Linked DNA regions of Homo sapiens: region 2 is linked to region 1. Evidence: promoter capture Hi-C in human tissues and cell types (Jung and others, 2019). All regions are on one chromosome and are shown on one strand. The core of a region is centred on a gene start or on the middle of the fragment in contact, and the rest is flanking DNA. Distances in the headings are between cores, read along the strand shown.

What was found. The method cuts DNA at HindIII sites, captures the fragments that hold promoters and counts their contacts. A contact is called where the count stands out against the background at its distance.
Region 2: a contact is called between a fragment that was not itself captured here and the fragment with the promoter of ST8SIA6 in region 1, in 1 of the 25 tissues and cell types used here (IMR-90 fibroblasts).

The regions. Positions count from the first base shown.
Region 1 is chr10:17,451,734-17,457,568 of GRCh38, forward strand. ST8SIA6 (ST8 alpha-N-acetyl-neuraminide alpha-2,8-sialyltransferase 6) reads right to left here and starts at 2,862. Exons shown (of 8, transcript NM_001004470.3): 1 at 2,422-2,862; 2 at 1,826-1,924. The coding sequence starts at 2,522. The HindIII fragment of the contact is 8,458 bases long and covers 299-5,835 here.
Region 2 is chr10:17,268,037-17,273,871 of GRCh38, forward strand. No RefSeq gene overlaps it. Among named protein-coding and RNA genes, the nearest start is that of VIM-AS1, 41 kb to the left of the region's middle. The HindIII fragment of the contact is 6,466 bases long and covers 1-5,835 here.

The sequences.
Region 1 (5,835 bases), core at 1,612-4,111:
CTATACAACCAAGTAGTATGGTGGATTAAAACTTGCACCCCTGCTCCATAAATAACCAAAATCATAAATGATAAAGGGGACATAAAATAAATCAAAACATAAAGAGGCTTTTACAAACACAGAATGGTATAAATTTTAGAAAGCTTAATAAAATGGGCCATATTCAGAATTATGAGTTACCTATATTAGCCCAAGAAGTATGCCAAGTAGAAAAGAAGTATGTCAAAAGAAAGTGAAAAATTCATCAAAGATTACCTCTAAAAACGACCTGAGATCAAACCATTTAATGAGTACATTCTTTCCAACTTTCCCCAAGGGTCAACCCTCGAATGTGTAATAGCCACAGGACTCGGGAAAAGATGGAATGCTTCTCAGCTCATCAAGAAAGCTAGGCTACCTATAGTACACCAACCTGAATAGAATAAAACTATAGGACACTATTTTTCTCAAAAGCTTTTGTTACTCCAGGAGGTCCTAGTGCCTCTAATATGCTGTGAAATTCCAATGAGGGGGTGGCAGGCAGTGGTGTTCCTCAATTCAGGGTTTATCCAGCCACTTCCAGACCCTTCTTAGAGCCGTGCTAGAGCTTCCTGGAGTTACACCATCAGAAGATTAAGGTGGATCCAAGAGCCAAGAATATAGAGAAGCATACGCAGAAGAAAAGGGATTTGCAAGAGATAAAAAGAGGAAAAGAGACCGTATAGCAGATTGCAATCATAATAGCAATGCTAAGGCAGGAAGCAGTACATTCTGCTTGTGAAAATGTAAATTGATTCAGCCCTTCGAGGAAGCAACTGACAATGTGACTTAGAATCTAAAGAGTACATACTCTTTGACTTACTAATCTCAACTCCTGTCTGTCCATCTTGGGTAATTAATTTGAAATGAAGATAAAGATTTACATACAAGGATGCATTTCATAGAATTACTGATGGCAAACAAAATAAAACAGAAACAAGAAGCAACCTAAATGTCTGAAAATGGAAACTATTAAATAGATTATGGCATGTTCAGATAATAAGTTATGCAACAATCCAAAGCAATGTTTTTGTGGGGGGAGGGGAATGTAATGACAGGTATAGGTCTAGGATTTTTAGAAAAAAGGCAGAACATAAACTGCAATGTATAATCTAAGTTATATTTTTGAAATATATGTATATAGAAAAGACTACTGGAAGAAATATAGACCAAAACCACCTTGAATATGGTCTCTGAGAGGTAAGGACTCTGAATGAATAACATTTTCTTTTATACAGTTCTATTTTCTAACTTTCTGCACAAAGCTGTATTACTTTTACAATCTGAAAAAAAAACAATTACTGCCTATGAATAAAAACACATGTGAATGATAAGAAAAAAAATTTAAGCCTCCAGTCACTAAGGACAAAATCATTCCTAGCACGCAAAACAAACCTGAATCTTAACACCGGTGCCCTTTAAAGCATAGAAAAGAAAAAGCAAACCAACCAAATCCCTCCATAAAGACAGGCTGAGCTGCTTCTCTCCAAAGGTGGCGGGGTCGGGGGCGGGGGTGCTTTCAACACACCATTGTCGAGAGGAAAACTCAGCACCCGTTTTTCAAATGCAGCTGCTGGAGGATCCCCCTTGATTCAAAGACCATTCACATCCAGGCTTAGAGGGTTGAGGGAGTGTGAAGGGTGCCCCCCCCCAACCCCGCGCCCTCTTCAAACACACGCACACTCTTACACTCACTCGCGCCGTCCCAGCCTGCCTACTCCCAACGAGTCCAAGCCGGTGCAGCCGCGCCCCATGCCCGGCTCGCAGCTCCCGAGCCCCAGTCCGCCCGCGCTGGGCGCCGCTGTACCTGTTAGTGGCGCGCGGTACCGCGGTCGCCGGGCTCCGGAGCGTCCTCAGCGCTGCGGGGGTGCCGTGGGTGGCCTCCCTGCTTTCCTCCACCAGAATCCTGCACAGCCGGGGAGAAAACTTAAGTTGCTACACCCCGCCGGGAGCTGTTGGCTGAAAGGCTGGGAGTCGCGCTCCTTGCCTGGCAGGGAGATCTCGCACTCCCCGGCTCCCAGGCCAGGTCCCCAGCCCCAGAGTTGGAAGAGCCTTAGGGCGGGAAGGAAGAGACAGCAAGGACCAGAATGGGGAGCATGAGATCCTGATGCGGAACCCGACGGCAGGTCCCGCTCCACAGCTGCCTCGCCCACAGCGATGCGCGCTAGAGCCCCCGCAGCCCTGACCGGTCCCTCTGCTCCCCAGCCGCCGTCCACCGGTCGGAGGGTCGCCTCCCTGCGACCCCCTCCCCCACTCCACTCTCAGGCCGTCGCCGCCCGTGGGCTGCTCCCCGCCGCGGCCAAAAGTCTCCGCGCCCGAGGGGAAGCGATGGGCGGCTTGGGGGTCCGGGGGCGCCAGGCGGGGCGCGCGGCGCGGGGCGCGGCCGGCGGGTGGGTGGGTTACCTGGCGCGGCCGGGCGCGTCTGCCGGGCACCAGAGCAGGCGCAGCAGCAGCAGCAGCAGCAGGCTGGCGAGCAGGGCGAGCAGTGCGCCCCCCGGCCGCATCCTGAGCCACAGGCGCCGCCGCCACCGCTGCTGCCGGGGCGAAGCACAGCCCGGGCGGCCCCGACTCGCGGCTCCCGCCGCCGCCGCCACCGCCGCCGTGGCCGCAGCCCCGCGCACCCACAGCGTTCACAGGCGGCAGCGAGGGGCGCCCGCAGCCCACCCGGCAGAGTCTCCGCGGCGGGCGGAGAAGAAGCCGCGTTCGGGCTCGCCCCGGGCTCCCGGCCCCGGCCCGCGGAGCGCCGCGATCGGCTGGCAGATGACGATTCGCCGAGCTCGCCGCCTGTCCTCCCGGAGGCGCTCGGAGCTGCTGCGGGCTCCGGTCGCCGCTGCCACTGCTGCTGCCGCCGCCGCCGCGCGGGGTCACCTGAAGGTTGGGGCGCGGAAGCTCAACTCCGTGCTGATTGGGCTCCAAGTTTTCTGCGCCCTCGCCTCGTCCCGAGTGCCCGCGAATCCCCCGGACGCCCACGCAGACCACCCAGCCACACCACAACTCTGCCTGCGGAGAGAGGAGAGGAGAAAAAGGGGCCGCTTCAAAAACTTTCAAAACTGTGCAGTCGCTTGGCTGGATCCTCCCACGCATGAAGAAAGCTGGGGACTGGGGAATTGCTGGGTGGATCATGACACTGAACAGAAGCAGTAACCTGTGCTTACTTCAACCCAGATTCAGAGGGACAGCGAACTGGTATGAGGGGCTAGGAGACCTTTAGGCATGAGCACATTACTACCTGGAGACCCGTTTAGCCCCTGCCTGTATTTGCAAATAGTTTTATTGGAAAACCTCCATGCCCATGGCTTTGTATTATCAGTGACTGCATATGGCTGTATGATCTAGGGCTGCAAGGGCAGAATTGAGTAGTGATGACAGAGGTGGCATAGCCCACAGGGCCTAAAATATTTACCATTTGAAACTTTCCAGGAAAAGTTTGCATACTGCTCTTAAATAAGCAAGAGGCCATTAGCTTGAGGCTGTCTCTGTACGTTGAGTTCCCACCTAACAATGGAAACCTACATTAGGCTGTAATGAACAGGGGGCTACTGGCCAATCATGGGCAACCAACTCATTATACCAGGCCCCACAAGGCAGCCTGCATAGCTATAGCCAATCAGTTTCTCCACTGTGCTTCTGAGTTTGGCCTATCAGGCTTTGCTGCTCACACCATGGGGTGGACCTCACTGGACCTCCTCTGGTTGTGAGTGCTGCCCAATTCATGAACCCTTTGCTCGAATAAACTGTGCTAAATTTAATTTGTCTGATGTTTTTCTTTTAACACTGCTATGGGCTGAATGTTTGTGTCTCTACAAAATTCATATGTTGAAACCCAAATCCCCAATCTAATGTGGTGGTATCTGGAGGTGGGGCCTTTCATACCTGATTAGTTCATGGGGTGGAGGCTTCCTGGTGGAATTAGTTCCCTCATAAGAGCAGGCAGCGGGGAATTTGCCTCCTCTCTCTCTGCTCTGTGCAGTGTAAAGACACAGCACGAGGGCAGCTTTCTGCCAAGCAGGAAGAGGACCCTCACCAGAACCTGACCATGCTGGCACACTGATCTTGGGTTTCTTACCCTCCAGAACTGTGAAAAATAAATTTCTGTTCTTTCGGTCACCCAGCCTATGGTATCCTTCTTATGGCAGCCAGAACTAAACCACGGTCTAGATCATATTGGTTAGTATCTCATTTACGAGTATCTCATCTGTTGCAGGAGAGTGATCCAATGACACTATGAAACAGACTGGCTCTCTATTTTTTTAAAAGTGGGTCTCAACTCTCTATGCCCTAAACTATCCTGACTGCCCAAGCCCCCACTTAGCCACTTCCCTAGGTTTTAATTCCATTGTGGTTATATGCAGGCTTATAAAATTATTCACTCTTACTTTTGTATAGTTTCGAGATTTTTCCAAATGCAACCCTTGGATTCCACCATCTTGGGAGTACCTTGATAAGATCTTTTGAAATGACTTCAATTTTGAAAAGGCTTTCATGAGTTAACTTTCCCAAGCAACAAAAATATGATATTTCAACTGACATCTCCTAGAAGCATATGGTCTTCACCTGAAAGAGGCCCAAGTGAGAGCCATTTGGGAGCAACCAGGCCAGACAGCCAAATAAAGCTGTCACCAAAGATTCCATCACAAGAAAACATATATCAAGGCAAGAGATACCAGTGTCCCTAGTCTCTTTCTGCTAATTCCGGATTTACTCTAAAAACATCTTGTTGAATACAAAACAGAAGTTTGCACATAATAATTGATCAATAAATGTTTAGTCAATGAATAAAAGCACATAAGAACTAGTGTTATTTTTAAAGAGAAAATGGAGCAAAAAAACTAAAAATAAATGTGACTAGGAATGTGATTTCCTTCTATAGCTCATCACTGCTGTTAATATATGTACTAATCAGGAATAAAAACAGGCTTCTACTTTTATATAAAACTAATATTTGTAGGGATTCAGTTGCTTCATCTGAGTATGACATAAAGTAATGCTATACTCAGGTAGTGATAGAATAATACAGAAATCTAGTTCTACATATTTCAAAGTTTAAGCCGTTTGTTAAATAAGTAGAATATGGCACAATCATCTAGAAAATGAAGAGTTGCCTGGATTTGAAAGATATTCCAATTTTTATCTCAGTGCAGAAAATTGTGCAGAAAACTAATGCTGAACATGGTTTGCAGAAAAAGAAAAAGGCATTATTGTATCAGCCAGGAAGCTGCAATTTCACCTAATTTACTAAAGTTTAATATTTCAGCACAGCTGGGCTCAAGGCAACAGCAGAAGAGTCAGCCTTGCACTGGGTTCCCTAAACACCCTTGCTGCAAATGAAGTTACTTTTTATCAAGCCAATGGCTATCAGCAGGGGACTCACAAAAGCCCATTTTAATTGGAAAAACAAGTGTAAATTTGCAATGGGAATTCTGAGCCCAGTGTTAAAATTTGACAGTAGGGAACTTTACCACAAGCTTTCTAATTTAAGACCTGGGTGGGTAAGATATGAATTATCTTGCTCATCCTTGAGAGAGAAAGAAACCTGACAAGAAAATGATACCTTAACATTATTAGCCATAGAACCACTACTGGAAAAGTGTGCATTTGGTAGCTTAACATTTCCAGGCTTGACTTGCAACCCTAAAGATCTATGCCATGTAGTAATTTGAAATGCTGCTGAGGCCAGGAATTGAAACGTAAACTCAGGTTGACATCCGGATGCTGCTCCCAAGCTTGTGTAAGTGGCGAGCCTACCTCACTCACCCAGTCCACTCCACATGGGCCTCTCATTTTGTCTTTGTTATTCTTTATTCATCATCATGAATG
Region 2 (5,835 bases), core at 1,388-3,887, 180 kb before region 1:
AGTATCCTCTGGAGAATCTCTAGTATGAAAACTTCTAGTTCCTGAAGTACACCAAAAGATGAAATAGAACCCTTTTGTAGGACACACTAGAGCTCCTTTAGAGGCAGTGGTTCTAGAAAATTGAAGCTTCAATCCAACATCTATGATGATTACCATAGATTATTGTTGCTGGCATTTTATGATGGACATCTTAAAAACTCATCCCATGTGGAGTGAGACAGCTCTACCAATCCTCAAGGCCAGAAATACAACACAGCTTTTGGCTCTGTCATTCATCCACTGTGGGTCTACCTGGAGCCATTTGATCCTGCTGAGCTGTGGCCTTCCCTTTTGCAAAATGAAGAAGAATGCCCCCTTGGGCCAAATGGGACAAGGTATATGAAAAATCACTGAAAATTACCACGTTCCACCCATCTATAAATGTCATAAGTATTGATGACTAATACATTGGAAAAAATAGACTCCGATTTATAATCAATGGCAGAGCAAAAACTCACAGAAGGAAATTAACACATAATAATGGTTCAAATAAGGTGAGATTTGCCAGCACAGGCAAGCTTTCATGTCCCTTTCAAGTTCCATGTGATTATGGTATATAAAACGTCTCAGAAATGAGATAAAATCCATTTAGCTAGGTGACATGCAGGGAGGGCAATTATTTTCCATCAAATACGCACAACAAAGCTGGCCAGTCTCAATTTGAATCAGAACACACTGCTGTTCTATTAGCTGGAAAATTAACAGGAATTTTATATCAAAACACTACTAACATAAAAAATGAAGCCAGTGTGTTTTACTATGATATTGCAGAGCTTATTACATGAGTAAAGAAGAATCAATATGCTGAATTTTTCTTTTAAGAATAAGAGTTTCATTAAAACCTGAGAAATAAAACTATGTTAGCATGATATAATCTATAGTTGGCAATCAAGAACTCCATAAAAGTATTCAATATTTTGAGAAAGTCTTAAAGCGGACTGCATAACAAACCACACGGCCAGAAGATTAAATCCAAATTATAGCATTATTCAGAAACTGGCTCAGTCAAATAGCTATTTCCTGCCTCTCCTCCAAACCCGCTAATTGCTTTCTTAACCTTGGGCTCTATTTCAATTTACAGTGATTTTTTAAAACTTTAAAGTTTATGTAAAATAACTTCAAAGTGTGAATGACATGAACTTGATGATTCTAACTCTTCATTTTTTTCAAATAGAGAAGCCCAGCAGCTTGGTAGGACCCAGTTCCCACCTTATTTTGATACTCCAGAAATAAGTGAGTTGAAGATCGTCAAACAGAAAAACTCAAAATAACAGTGTAACCTTCTTTTATTTAGGATTATAAACATCATACAACTTTTTTATTAAAGAAAATGATAATTTTTATTCAGTTCCTTAAAATTCACCCTATAGTCTCTAATTCAATGTTAAAATAATATAAGTCTTGAGGCTGAGGTGGGAAGATCACTTGAGGTCAGGAGTTTGAGACCAGCATGGCCAACATGGTAAAACCCCACCTCTACCAAAAATACAAAAACTAGGTGGGCATGGTGGTGTGCGCCTGTAGTCCCAGCTACTTGGGAGGCAGAGGCAGGAGAATCACTTGAACCTGGGAGGCAGAGGTTGCAGTGAGCCGAGATCCCATCTCTGCACTCCAGCCTGGGTGACAGAGTGAGACTCCCTCTCAAATAATAATAATAATAAAGTCTTACTTTTGGTTATTTTCTAATCTGAAGTCTTCCCACTCACTAGTCTAAGAATATGACACAATTGTCCCCTATTAAATCATCACCTTTTGTTGATTCTTGCTCTTTCCAGCTATCTTGAAACATAAATATAGAAACCTCAGGTTAATGGATATCTCAAATTTGAAGGCAAATGAACACTATGTATAGCTATAAAAGAATGATGTACACCAGGCTCAGCTATGGCGCACACCATCCCTCCTATAGAAACCTAAAATATCTATGACTTGTAGTAGATCAAAGTTATGAACCTATATTCCTTCTTGTACTTACTTCAAATCTTCTTGAAAGAACTTTAAAAATGTGAAGGTTATATTATTTCTCTCTTACCAAACAGATGGGATCACAGTACTTCTAAAATATTAACCTCATTCTAGATTTCACTTTTATTCATTTCTGGTTAAAGAGAGAATATAGGGCATAGTGAAGGGTTTTGGAAGCCTGAGGAAGTTATTTTTATATTTACCTCAAACTTACGTAAATGCCCTCTTTTTACACAAAGACCTTGCTGTGTAAAGAGTACATTGTAGTTATTATAGTTGCCACTTCTTCTTCTTCTTTTTTTTTTTTTTTGAGACTGAGTTTCGCCCTGTCACCCAGGCTGAAGTGCAGTGGCATCATCTTGGCTCACTGCAAACTCCACCTCCCAGGTTCAAGTGATTCTCCTGCTTCAGCCTCCCAAGTAGCTGTGATTTCAGGCGCCTGCCACCACGTCCAGCTAATTTTTTTTTATTTTTAGTAGAGACGGCATTTCACCACGTTGGCCAGGCTGGTCTTGAACTCCTGACCTCAAGTGATCCACTCACCTCGGCCTCCTAAAGTGCTGGGATAACAGGCATGAGCCACCGTGCCCAGACCACTGCTTCTTTTTCCCTAAAGAAACAGTAGCTCCCCCAACCTCACAGGCTCCCCTTGTGAAAATAAACACTGAGATGATATCTTTGAATTGATAAAGCAAAATAAATAAGATGCGACAGAATAAAGCAAGGGAAGTAAAGGAACACTTTCTTGAGAAATCAAATATATATGAAGTCTACTTCTCTATTCTTGTTTATTCACATCTTAAATTTGATCTGCATAATATCTGGTAAAGTTCTCCCTGTGGTTGCAGAAAGACATTCAGAAATCAGAATATTTGACTTAAGGAGTTAAAACTACAGCAACACAAGAAAAAAAGTCTGTTAAGAGTACAATTTTAAAAGTACTTAGCCTTGGCCAGGTGCAATGACTCATGCCTGGAATCCCAGAGCTTTGGGAGTCTGAGACAGGAGGATCACTTGAGCCCAGGGGTTTGAGACCAGCCTGGGCAACATGGTGAAACCCTGTTTTGACAAAAAATATAAAAATTAGCTGAGCATGGTGTTGTGCACCTGTACTTTTAGCTACTATAGCTATTTGGGAGGCTGAGGTGGGAGGATCGCTTGACCTTGGGAGGTTGAGGCTGCAGTGAGCTATGACTGCACCACTGCACTCCAGCCTGCCAACAGAGAGAGACCCTGTCTCAAAAACAAATAAACAGGCCAGGCGCAGTGGCTCACACCTGTAATCCCAGCACTTTGGGAGGCTGAGGCGGGCAGATCCAAGGCCAAGGCGGTGGTGGGCGACAGAGCAAGAATCCATCTCAAAAAAACAAAGAAAAACAAAAAAAGAAAAGAAAAAACTTGGTCTCTTCTGTGTGTCAGATAAGATTTTAAGTGCTAGGGATACACAGTGAACAAGATAAAGACTCTGCCCTCCAGGTGCTTAAATTATATACTATGTATGTGTGTATATATATGTATATATACATATATATGGTGAATTTTTCCCATTTTCTATTTCTATTGTATACATACATGGTATATATGTTATATATATATACACACACACGGTATACTTACATACATGGTATATATCTATAATGTATACATATGTATGTATATATACACATATGTGGGTATATATATATATATACCCACATATGTGTATCTATGTGTGTGTGTGTATATATATATATATATATATACACACACACATATATATATGGTGAATTTTTCGCATTTTCTATTTCCTTTCCGAGACCATGAGTGTAAGGGGGAATTTGGAACAATACATTTATGGTGGTAGACATCAGAAAACATTTCAGATCTCACAAATGAAGCACTAGCTTCTTCCCCCACCTTCAGGAATGAAATCACTCCTCCATATTAAACACCTGGATAAGCATTGCTCAACTTTATTAAATGACCGTTTGTGAAGTGTCTGTGATTAATTGCAATCAACTCATTTATTGAGTGCTATCCGGCACTAGAACAGATGCATTTAACAGGAGATAGGATAAAGTCCCAACCTTTAAAGCATATGGAATTTACATTTATGATTTTTTTAAAAAAAAAAAGACTAAAGTAATCAAGACAAACTCAAGTATCTTTCTATGTAATCTAAAGCAGGGGTCTGCTTTATGAAAAAAATGACATATTTTGACATAAAGCTTCTGTTTTTCCTGGTCGAATTGAAGGCAAATAGCTCAGCATTTCATAAAATTATGAGCTTCAAAATTTCTCTCTGCAGATCCCGTCTCTGCCTTCAATACGTTCCCAGGTCTGCCTTGGGAAAAGTTTGTGACGTTCTAGTTTTTAGGAGACCGTTTTGCTATTATTCTTTCCACCTCCTTCCACTCCCCAAACCAGAGAGAATATGGTATCAGTTAAGTAGGGACTAACAGAAAGCGATTCTTTCAGGTGTGAGCCCCAGCTGAGGTTTGAGGGGAGTGGGTGGATGGGCAGATAACTGAAAGAACACTCAGGGGGCCGTAGGCAGGTGAATATGGTTTTATGCAGCAGCTCTGTCATCGGCAGCGTACTCACACCGTCCACCTTTACCTCGGCTATTTGCTCCAGCTCTGAGGCTCTCGCCGACCCCACACCTGCAGCTGCGCTCTCTGCCCTACAAGGCCAGCTCTCTCTTACAGGGAGAGCAGCTTAACTCTTTCCCTTTGGGCACAAGCTGGTTCCTGGCTCCCCACTGCCTGCCTTCAAGGTGACCCACTCTCCCTTACAGGGGTAAGTAGCCTTACTCTCTCTCTGGGCACCAGCGCCCGAGCCATGTCGAGCCATTCCGTTCCGTGCTGGGCCGAGCCAAGCCATATGCACAGTGTCAGCCGGGCAGTTATACTTTTTCAAAGAATAATGGCTCAAAGACAGGTATGAGCTTACCCAAACAGGTTATATAACAAGTGGAGTATTGCGCCTGTGCCCTAAACTCACTAAGTCATGCAGGCCCGGATGTCTGCCTCAGCCTAATTCTTGACCAAAGCTCATCCGTGTAGCTTACAGATTCACTCTTAGGTATTTGCTCAATCACACGTTGCATTTTCTCTAAACCTCTCATCCTATGTCCTCAACTCCATACCCACCTCCCCACCACCCTCACCACCCTAAACTTCCAACAGAGAGAGTAGAACATTTTTAGGATACAAGGAACACCTGAAATCACCTTTAGGCCTTTTCAGTGGATCGAAAGGAAAACCTGATGTTGACCTTTGGATAGACAACCAGGAGGGAGGGCCGTCAAATAGGCGGCCCTAGAATGACCCCTGAATCAGAGCTGGAGGACGCAGGGTGAGCCTTGTAGAGGTTTAGGCCAGGCTGTGCTGCTGAAGAAGAAAGGTCCTCTGGGTCTCCTCATCACTGACACCTTTCTCACACACACACACACACACACACACACACTCTTCCCCAAACCCTTAATTCAGGCTTCTCTAGGGAAGCAGTTTTCACTTTGTTTTTTCAGCAGGTATTCATGATAGATGTGAGTCATGTCTACCACACAACTCACTCAAAAGGAGTGCTGGGATTAACCCTGAGAGTGAGTCACGTGATAGAGCCTCACTCTCATTTCATGTCCAGGGAACAGAAGATTCTGCTTGGTAGCTGTAACTCACTTTCTTTCCTGGACATACAGAATTCTGCTTGCTAGTTGTAACTCGCTTTTTCTTTCCTTCCTTCCTTTCTTTCTCTCTCTCTTTCTTTCTATATAAAATTCTGCTTGGTAGCTGTAACTCCCCTCCCCCTCCCCGCCTTCCCCTTCCTCCTTCTTCCCTCCTCCTCCTCTCC